Regions from separate parts of the Homo sapiens genome. Here regions 1 and 2 are each linked to region 3. The links are contacts of gene promoters, found by promoter capture Hi-C in human tissues and cell types (Jung and others, 2019). All regions are on one chromosome and are shown on one strand. The core of a region is centred on a gene start or on the middle of the fragment in contact, and the rest is flanking DNA. Distances in the headings are between cores, read along the strand shown.

Region 1 (3,692 bases), core at 479-2,978, 63 kb before region 3:
ACTTCCTTCAGACGGTGTGGAGAGAGATTTGCAAAGAGAACCTAAGACACAGGCTGAGAGCACAAGAGCTTCTGTGTGGGGCAACTTTGTTGCCATTAAATTCCTCAAACACTTGAGCTCCTCTGCTGCCTCCCATGTGGTGGCCAGGCCTTTGCACACTTCCAGGGCAGCTCACCATAACCCAGACAGCACTGAGTACAAGCACATCTTTCCTCAGGTTAGGCCTAGTCTGCAGCCTCACTCCCCAGTCTTTGCCTTAGAAGGGGCTGATGTGATTTGGATTCGATGCCCTTGGCAATGAGGAGGCGGTCATGTGGAAAGAGGTATTTGGGAAAGAGCCAAATACCTCTTTGTGTGCAAGGGATGACAGGCTGGATGTGGGCCAAATGGGACAAACCTGTAGCCCAAAGGCCAGTTAGGAAGCAACATCATAAATGGTCCTGGCCTGCCCAGGTGCACTGGAGAGACAGAAGAGGTTTCTAACTGGGTCAGGGAGAGGGGAAAGGGAAAAGAAGGGAGAAATCCAAGGTTTGCAGTCCAGAAGCAGGAAGAAATATCATGCTTTTGACAGAAAAAAGGGAACTGGGGGCTCCTGACCTGAGGGTCCAGGCTGCCCCTGGGATGTTCATACAGAGGCTTCCAGCTCCCCAGCAGGTTTCAAGAGGAGTTTCCAGAACTGTGCTGAGCTGAGCCTCAACCACTTTCCCCAGGGCTAGGTCAATTCAGTCCCCTGCTAGTCCATACAGTACGTTTGTAGTAATTAGAAAAGGACAGCCTTCCTCAAAACACTTTACTGACATCTGTTGGCAAACTGGCATAATACCTAGATATTGTTGGAACAAGACATTTGACTGCCATCTGCCGGACAATTCTCACTATAAATATACCATCTATGATATATCATAGTCTGCTAATCTGCAGTTGGCTGCAGAAGACATCCTCTTAGATGAGGTATCCTTGTGCAGTGTACAACCTGCACAACTGTACGTGGAGCCCCTAGGTATGTGTGTCCACACCCCTTCCTTCTTCCCAGGCTGGCCCTGTGGGGGATGGCAAAATACTAAGACCAAGTCAGACCTTGGAGAGAATCAGCTGCTGTGAACTAGGCCTCCCTGACACCTAGGAAGGAGGAGGCCAGGGAGTCATAGGCCAATAGGAACCATCATGATGGTCAAAGGCAAGATTTGCCTCCAAATCACAGACTCAGAAAATGGTTCCTGCACAGAAGTAGGGTGAGTGGACAGCTCTGCACTTGCCAAGCCCATGCCGTCCAGGAGAGGGTGCTGTGCGGCTGCTGGAGTATCAGACATGTTAGCCGAGACTAGCAGACTCCAGAGACCCGGCACACACAGGGCTGGTGAGCTCTCAACACACACCCAAAGCATCTGATGCTCTCAGGCTCGGCTCTCTCTGTTTTCTCTCTATGACTCTGTTTTGGTTTCTATATTTCTTAGCCTTCCTATCTGTCGATCTCTATTTTTCTATGCCTGGGTCTCTGACAGTCCTTTGGCAGGGCCACCCGTCTCCATTTCTCTGTCTGTAGCTCTCTATAAACCTGCCTTTCTCAGCCTCACTCACCAAGGACTCCAGACATACAAGCCTGCACACGCCCTGGTCTATGTGACATTCTGGCCCCTTCAGGATGGAAAGCTAGATGCCAGGGCCGGGGCTGCACTCCTAAAAGACTTCAGTCAGCTCAGGTGTCGGGGTGAGCTGTGAACCCATGTTCCCTCATCAGCTTTCATCATTCCCAGGCTGCACCCCACCCCCAGGCCCTGGATTGCTCCAGATGCCAGGCAACCCCAGTCAGGAGCAGGGGTGGGGCTCTTTTGCTGGGGTCTCTGGAGGCCCCAGGGGCTCTAGAGGGTAGAGCATTCTGGTTCAACTCCTGCCTGCAGCTCCCTTCTGGGGCTGAAGGGGGTAGGGGTGATGCTGAATAGGAGAGTGACAAGATGGGCCAGACCAGACCTCTGCTTCTTCCAGTCCCAGCCCTCAGGACACACCAGGACTCAGGAGCCAGCAGAGAGGGGTGGTCAGGAAGCTTCTCTGGCTGTGTCCTCCACGATGCCAGAAATTCCACCATAGTCTTGAACCCTCTGGATTGAAGCCTTAATAGGCGACAGCAGAGCGTGGTGGTTAGACGCAGAAGCGCCAGCCTTTGTTACACCTGCATCTGAATCCTGGCTTGGTCACTCGAACTAGCATTTGCGATATGACCTTCAAGCAAGTTATTTAAGTTAGAAAGGTTTTCTAGGGCCTTGGTTTTCTCATGTTTAAAAATGGGATTAACTGCAGATACATTCACACACAGGCAGGCTGTACCAGGCTATTCACTGCAGCCTCATTTGCAGCTGCTGACAACTGAAAACAATCTAAGTGTCTCTCAGCAGAAGACTGGTTGAAGAAATTCCGGTGCATCTGCACAGTGGGACGCAATGCAGCTGGGCAGGAGGATGAGGAAGCTCTCAAGTACAGGGACACCTCAGTCTCCAGCATTTGCAGTTAGTTAAAAAAAAAAAAGCAAAGTGCAGAAAAATGTGTAGAGTATACCACTGCTTCTTGCATAAATGAGGAAACAATCCTATTATATGTTATTGGTTTGCTAGGCGAAGACCACCTCTGGAAGGCCTCACAAGAAGCAAGGATTGCCTTCAGGAAGGGGAACTAGGGGATAGAGTCGGGCGGAGACTTTCATTGTATATATTTTTTATATTGTTTGACTTTAGAATGTGTATAATCTGTATTTTTTAAGTAGTAAAATTAAAATATTTTTAAAAGATAAAAAACAGGCTGGGTGTGGTGGCTCATGCCTGTAATCCCAGCACTTTAGGAGGCCAAGCCAGGTGAATCACTTGAGGTCAGGAGTTTGAGACCAGCCTGGGCAACATGGTGAAACCCCATCTCTCCTACCAAAAATACAAAAATTGGCCGGGCATGGGGGCTCGCGCCTACAGTCCCAGCTACTTGGGAGGCTGAGGCAGGAGAATTGCTCGAACCCAGGAGGTGGAGGTTGCAGTGAGCCGAGATTTTGCTGTTGCACTCCAGCCTGGGCAACAGAGTGAGACTCGGTCTCAAAAAAAAAAAAAAAAATCCAGAAGATTCTAACAGCCCCTGCATCATGGGGCTGTTAGGAGGATCTTGTGGTCCCCCCATGGGCTCCATCATGGACTACTGGCCCTGCTCATTTGCCATAATCTCTGGATGAGGTAGATGGGGACACACACAAGCCAGCCGCTGAGCTGACACTGGAGACCTTTCCTACTCAAAACGTGTTCTGTGCTCCTACAGTATCAGCATACACTGCCCAGGATATGTCTCATTTCATTTAATTCTCACAATCCTGCAGGTGGGGTCAGTTGTCAGCCCATCTTAACTGGGAGCTGGTTAGAAATGCAGGATCTCAGGCACCCCCCCACCCAGACCTCCTGATTCAGAACCTGCATTTTTACAAGATGCCCAGAGGATTCGCGCACACATGAAAGTTTTTGAAGCAGTGGTATAAACAGTAGGGAAAGCACAGAAAGGCCAAGCTGGCTCATGCACTGCCGCGAAGGGAGGGCCAAACCTGTGGGAAGCTGGGAAGGACAGGGCAGGAGGGCTAGGATCCCAGAGGGGAGAGCCCCACACTCTTCCATCTCCATGTTTGCCCAGGCCCTGCAAGGGTTTGGTTCTGTGATTGAGAACCTGGTTGG
Region 2 (3,608 bases), core at 193-2,692, 49 kb after region 3:
CAAGTTTTCACTATGATTTGGAATGATTTCACTGTTGGAGATGTCAAAAACAGTCTCTCAGACAAAACACAGCCTTGAAGTCAACGTGCAGAGACCATAACTATCCACCCTTCTTTACAAGTTGGGCACTGGGCAGAAAAATGGATGGGCCAGCGTCTCACCCATCAGGGAGCTTCCTGGTGCCTGAGAGTTATTTACAAGAAAACTCACTTAGGCTGGTTCTCTGTAGACAACCATAACATATCCTGGAATTCTGAGTGGGGAGAGTACTGTTACATAGATTATTTACCTGGCAAAAACAAAACAAAACAAAACAAAACAAAACAAAACAAAAGATTTCTTTCCAGGACAAAAAACTCCCTCTGGATAAAAAGGATAGGGAAGAAAGAAAAGAACAAAGCCAATACTAGCTCTACAAGAGCAGTGGTTTTGTCTGTTTTGTTCACTGCTTTGTTGAGAACAGTGCCTGGCATATATAGCAGGGTCTCAATAAACATTTACTGAATGAGTGAATGAAGTTGGGGAGAGGGAGGAAGGGATGGAAGGAGGAAAAGAAGGAGGGAGGAAGGCAGGAAGGCAGGCAGGAAGGCTGATTTTTCAGAAGCTTTAACAATAGAATTAAGTCCATGGGGAGAAAAATCAAATGAGCAATCTGGATTCACAGAAACCTCAAAATAAAGATTAAATAAATATAACTTCATCATTTCTTGCATTATAAATATAGCCAAGAAAACCCTGCAAAGCCCATGACAAAGTTCCCATGACTTTCACTAGTGTGTGCTCAATATTTAATCAGGCTGCTCTCCAGAAGCTTGTTTGTGCATAGCACCTCTTCTAGTACCCCGGGCATGAGGCAGGGGTGAAGCCTTGACAATGAAGGAGGCTTCTGCCAGGTCCCTGCATGTGTGGCACCATGCCCAGAGCCATTTTCACACACCGTAGAGGGAAAGAGCCCAAGAAATCATTTCACCAACAGCCTTGCCTCCAGGAAGCAATGCATTTGAACCACTCCAAACCACAGAGAAAGTCTATTTTCATGAGTTCTCACTTGTACAAAAATTTGTTTCTAAATGTGAAAATTTATTATCAAAAACACAGCAAAAGAAAAAATTAAAAATAAATAAATGTGAGACTTCAGATAAGTCAGTCAATCCCCTTGCACATCAGTTTCCTCATCTTTGAAATGAACATAAAAACAGTATCTACCTTATGTGACTGCTGTGAAGACTGAGAAATAAACTGCACGGCACAGTACCTGGTATACAGTAAGTGCTTGACAGAGCTGTTATTATCACAGAAGGTAAGCTTATTTTGCAAATAAAAGAGGAAGGTTTTCCTTGCGGTCTAAGCAGTTCATCTTTGAGCACAGATCTGGACTCTCTAAGTCTTACTAGATTCTTAGTTTGAGGCCAATAAATGATTTGCTATTTCCAAAACTTCTTGATGTTGCTGGATCTACTTCATCCTTCCTTTGAAGGTTACGGGATGCATCGAGTTCCAAATGTGTGCCTTTTCACTGTATGTGAGAACTATCCCAGGCTTCCTCAGTAGAAATGAATATGTTATTTTTAAGTTGGCCAGAAAATGACCAAAGTAAAAAAAATAATTGGCTGAACATGCTAGCGCCTGGCTTGACTGAGGGCAGAGATGGCAGGCTGTAAGTGTGATATCTTGGACAGAATGCTAGAGGGAGTTAAGAAACTAGGGTTCAAGTGTGATTTTGCCACTTTTAGCTGGGTAAGCAAGCTCCTTTACCTCTCCTGGCCTCAGTTACCTCTTTTATAAAATGGGGTATGTACTAGATTAACTCTAAAATTCTTTTCTGGCTTTAAGACTCAATGATTCCATGGAAATGGTAAAAACCAAGGGGATGGCCGGCAGGAGTAAAGTGACTATAAAGATATGAAGCCAGGAGGGGAGAAAAGCAGTAAGAATGTGAATGTAAAGAGAAAACTCTGGGTCAGTAAGAGGAAGGATTAAGTCAGTCAAATATTATCCATAAGGGTGCAGACTAGGGAGGATGAACTGGGCTGAATGTCAGGGTGCAGACTAGGGAGGATGAACTGGGCTGAATGTCTAAGACAACACCAGGTCGGGAAAATTCTAAAGGGTCAGAAGCTTGGAAGACCACTTATCTTTGGAACAGCCAGAAAGAATATTGTCTCTTCAGGGACTAGGGAGTTAAGAGAAAGTAACTGATGATCCGAGAGAGACAGTGGTAGAACTCCAACATCAGACTTAAAGCTAGACTCTTCAGGTCTACTGCACAGCTACAGACTACTCACATCAGAGGCGAAGGGCTCAGACTCTGAAGACTGGCTGCCTGGGTTCAAATCATGGCTCCGTGACCAGACCTGGGACCTTGAGCAAGTGACCTAACCATACTGTGCCTCAGTGTCCTCATCTGTAAAATGGGCATAAAACCTGAAGCTACCCTATAGGGATGTTGTCAAGATTAAATAAGCCGATATATGGAAAGCCCCCTGAACAGGGTCTGGCATCTGGTAAGTAATAAACAACTGTCAGTTTATTTACTTATTTTTTGCTGCAGAGCGGGATGTTTCCATGACTCGCTGCAAAGTCACTTCATTCTTCTTATTGAGAGCATTTAGGGGCAGGATTTCCTATCTAAGGCTGAAATCTAGAAAAAGAACCCCACCTCTGTCACCTTTTTGTTCCCTGGGTGGGGTCAGGGGAAACTTCCAGTCATTGGTGGTGGTGCCTCTTGTACATCACCAAGGCTGCAGCTGCCCTCCATCATTCCCGAGGTGCCACTGCAAGGAGCACCAGATGACCCTGGGAGTGTGAGACAGGCCAGCACTTCAGGAAACCATATGGGGTTTCCTTTCGGGAATCTGTCACACCATTCTCCCCTTGCATTTACTTTAAATGTATGGCCAACTAATCCTAACCTGAAGGTAGTTGTTTTTTGATACCAGGACATTAAAAAATGATATATTTTTACTTTTCCTGCCCTCTTACAGGCCCAGATTAAGTTGCACTTAATTCTCCCTCATGTGTTTCTGTTTACTCTTCATATAATTACGTGTTTTTAACTTTTCTTCCAAATGCTACGCAAAATGCTGTTAGTTTCACATGTCTACAGCTTCCCAGAATTATCATACATAGGAAAATATGGTGCTTCCACATCCACATTTACAAGTAAAAACAGCACTTTAATAGAATCAACAACATTAAAGAGCTAAAGCCACACCCTTCCAATGCTCACTCGCTCTCTCTACAACTGAGCTCCAAGGACTCATTTTATTTCCATCTGCAAGGCAAAATATTGATTTGAAGTAGTCCAAATAATCCAGCTTGTTTACAAGACACTAATGTTTCTGGAATGTTTAAACTATGATTTAGAGAAGAAGCGAGCAGTGTTCATTGACGATGCCCCATTTCTCAGTTCAACCGTGTATGGAGATTTACTTTATAGGACTGGGGAAGAAGATAATGCCATCAACCAGGTCAGGAAAACTCATCAGGAGTTGCCGTTAGGGAGGCTTTGAGGGGAAGACAGTCAGGAAAGGAGACTGGTGTGTCTGAGGAAGAGGCACAGACTGGCCTAACTGACAAGTTTCTCTCGCTGTTTCCTCCAAACACTT
Region 3 (3,330 bases), core at 279-2,778:
TGGTTTGTTGTCCACCTTTCCTCGATGTGCAGGCTGGCACAGCTGTGAACGGCAGTGCTGGGTGTGTGCAGAGCTCTTCCTAGATCTTTCTTACGTGTCATCCTGTCTGACGCCCAGGGCAGGGATCGCCAGCCCCATGTTTCCATCTGGAAACAGAGGCCTTTGAAGGGAAAGGGGTCCACCCAGAGTTACTTCAGCCAGATCACATTAGGCTGAGGTTAGAACTTAGGTTTGGGGCCCCAGGCTCACTGTTATGTTCCCCAAGGTGCATCTGTTCTCTCAGGCACCAGCTCCAGGGGTCCCTGAACACTGCCCAGCAACCTCCCCAGTCACCTGAGGGTGGCTGGAGGGGACAAGCTAGTTCAGCCCTCAGGGAGGGCAGGAAGTGGGTGAATTTCTCACTTTATCTCCTTTAATTCTGCATATAGACAGCCCGCCTCTCACCCTACCATAAATAGCTCTTCCTGACAGAAGTAACCAACCCTAAATCTGGCTTCTGTCTCCTGTGTGCATGTACATGTAATGTTTACTACATCTGCGTGTTTCACCAGGACATAAATAGTATTTTTACATGTTTTCAGACTTCATGTAAAGAGATCCTACTGTGTATTTTTTAGAGATTTTATTTCCTCCCCCATTCAGTATGATATCTGTGAGATTCAATCCACACTGGTATATACGTAGCTCTAATTCTGACCGCCTTTTACAGATGAGACACGGGATCGGCAAGGTTACAGGACTTGCCTCGAATCATAGGTCTTGTAGGTGACCGAGACAGAATTTGGACTGTGTGATCCAGAGCCCTCTCTGCTTCTGGATCCTGCTGTCACCCACCTCCTTAGCACCTGCCTCCTACTCCACGTGCCCACGCCCATCCTGCTGCCCTGCTTCCTCTTGTCCTCTCCTTGGCAGGCATGTGAAAGACCGTTTTCACAAAGGTGTTAAGAACTTCCCGGGTTCCCCCACTGAGGGCACATGCATTTGAGGAAGTGCTGGGGAAAGCTCATTGGAGTGGGAAGCCAGGGCTTTGGGTCTGGCTCTACCAGCTGTGTGACCCCAACAAATCCCTCTGAGCCTCACTTTCCTTATCTGTATTATGAGGCTGCTTATAGGGGCCTGTGAATTTTATTAGGCGGGTGCAAAAGTAATTGTGGTTTTTGCCATTTAAAGTAATGTAATACCATGTCAGGGACTCGGGGACTCTGTCACTGACCAGAAAAAGGAGAGGAATTCTGAAATAGCTTCAGCATGAGGAGCAGGGTAAGAGAGCCTGGTGACAGACCCTGGCCAGCACCCCTTCCATCCCAGCCAGCAAGGGCCGTGGCCACACTTACCATGTGCAGCATGTCTGAGGCCGTCGGGGATACCTGGGCCCGGTAGAGGTTGTGCAGCTCCACCATCAAACGTTTCTCCTCATCTGTGAGGGCTCCAACGGGGCCTGTGGTGGCCACCAGCAGTAGCAGTAGCGGCAGCAGAAGCATCAGGAAACTGCAGGAGCCGTGCATGGTGGCCAGCCGTCTCTCCTTCTCCCGTCCAGGGGTCTGGCAGCTGGATTTAAAGTCCTTCCCACACAAGCACCACCCTGGCTGGGGTGGGGCAGTGGGGGCCGTGTTTGAGGCCCAGCCCGACTCACACAATGTCTCAGGGAGGGCTGGGCGCTTTGGGTCCCGACCAGCATCAAGTGCACTCCCCTTGGAGTCCTTGGCAAAAACCTCCTTTCTCTTGGTAACGGGGGCTCAGGCCAAAAGCTGTGTGAGTTCCTAAGTTGTGGACAGATCCTTCAGGGGCAAAATCACAGTAACCTCTGCAGAGCTGTGACTGGTTGCACCCAGGTCACACCCACTGTGTGTTGAAGATAGATAAGAGAAAGGAAACCACAGACCCTACCCACAGAGGAGTGGGCAAGATGAGGAAGCTATAGGCTTTTGAAAGGACAGAGGAAGACCAGATGTATTTGATAAAAGGCTGAGCCAACCTAAATCAGAATCCTGGTTCTGCCCCTTGCTATCTGTGTTTTGGCAGCTTTCTCAAGTGAATCAGTGACAATAATAGTACCTATCTCACAGGACTAGAGGGAAGATTCAATGACATATAATGTATGTAAAGCACCTAGTATGGTGTCTGGCACATAGTAGGCCCTCAGTAACAGTAGACAACCCACTCATGTGGCCTGGGCCTTAGCAGGCTACCAGCCCCCTGTGGAGGCAACATTCTTGCCTGCGGGGGGAGAGGCCAAGGTCTTCCCCACTCTAGCTGTATTCAGGAATAAGGCCTTTCACTATGGCAAAATTTTGGCTTCCAGGTATCCTCTCTGAATGCATGTGCTTGACATGCTCATTTGGAAGTGGGATGCTGGGACCCCTGTGCTCTAACTATGTAGAAATATAATGTGTCTGTTTCTTAAATCAAGAGAGAGCAGAAAAGCAGAAGGTTGAATGAGCTGATGCACCAGGAGCTCTGAGGGGAAGGTATTGGAAGGGAAATAGCCTTAGCAGTCAGGTGCTGGCATTATAATGACCTTGACCTTGCAGGGGCCATGACCGGTTCATGAAGCAGGAAGCTGGAACCAGTACTCTTGAGGACAGCTGGGATCCTTGAAGCCTGCTTCTTCAATGAATAGGGACCTAGAAAAAGTCTACCCACAGGCTTTGGAAGATGACAAGAAAACCTGTCCCTGCCTGAGTCTCCAAGTAAAAATAAAAACAAAACCAAGATGGATTACACACACATACACACACACACACACTTATTAGAATTAATAAAGTCAGCAAAGTTGCAGGATACAAAATTAACACATAGAAATTAGTTGTTTCTATACACTAATAATGAAAAATCCAAAAAGGAAATTAAGAAAACAATTTCATTTATAAAAGCAATGAAAAAGAATAAAAAGAATAAAATTCTTACCAATAAACTTTTTTTTTTTTTTTGAGATGGAGTCTCGCTCTGTCACCCAGGCTGGAGTGCAGTGGCATGATCTTGGCTCACTGCAACCTCTGCCTCCTGGGTTCAAGTGATTCTCCTGCCTCAGCCTCCCAAGTAGCTGGGACTACTTGCCCACCATGCTGCCCACCATAGCTGCTACCATGCCCGGCAAATTTTTGTATTTTTAGTAGAGATGGGGTTTCACCATGTTGGCCAAATGGTCTTGATCTCTTGACCTCGTGATCCGCCCGCCTCGGTCTCCCAAAGTGCTGGGATTACAGGTGTGAGCCACTGCGCCTGGCCCTTAGCAATAAACTTAACCAAGGAAGCAAAAGACTTGTACGCTGAAAATCACAAGTGTTGACAAACAAAGTGAAAGAAGACACAAATAAATGGAAAGTCATC

What was found. Contacts are between HindIII fragments. The study calls those that stand out against the background at their distance.
Region 1: a contact is called between a fragment that was not itself captured here and the fragment with the promoter of PI16 in region 3, in 1 of the 25 tissues and cell types used here (spleen).
Region 2: a fragment that was not itself captured here is called in contact with the fragment with the promoter of PI16 in region 3 in 15 of the 25 tissues and cell types used here (H1 embryonic stem cells, IMR-90 fibroblasts, aorta and 12 more).

The regions. Positions count from the first base shown.
Region 1 is chr6:37,015,933-37,019,624 of GRCh38, reverse strand. The region is part of intron 9 of FGD2 (FYVE, RhoGEF and PH domain containing 2); the gene reads right to left. Among named protein-coding and RNA genes, the nearest start is that of FGD2, 12 kb to the right of the region's middle. The HindIII fragment of the contact is 7,463 bases long and covers 1-3,692 here.
Region 2 is chr6:36,904,002-36,907,609 of GRCh38, reverse strand. All of the region lies in intron 4 of C6orf89 (chromosome 6 open reading frame 89), which reads right to left. Among named protein-coding and RNA genes, the nearest start is that of C6orf89, 20 kb to the right of the region's middle. The HindIII fragment of the contact is 3,401 bases long and covers 1-3,142 here.
Region 3 is chr6:36,952,936-36,956,265 of GRCh38, reverse strand. It overlaps PI16 (peptidase inhibitor 16), which reads right to left and starts at 1,528. Exons shown (of 7, transcript NM_153370.3): 1 at 1,335-1,528. The coding sequence starts at 1,505. The HindIII fragment of the contact is 39,732 bases long and covers 1-3,330 here.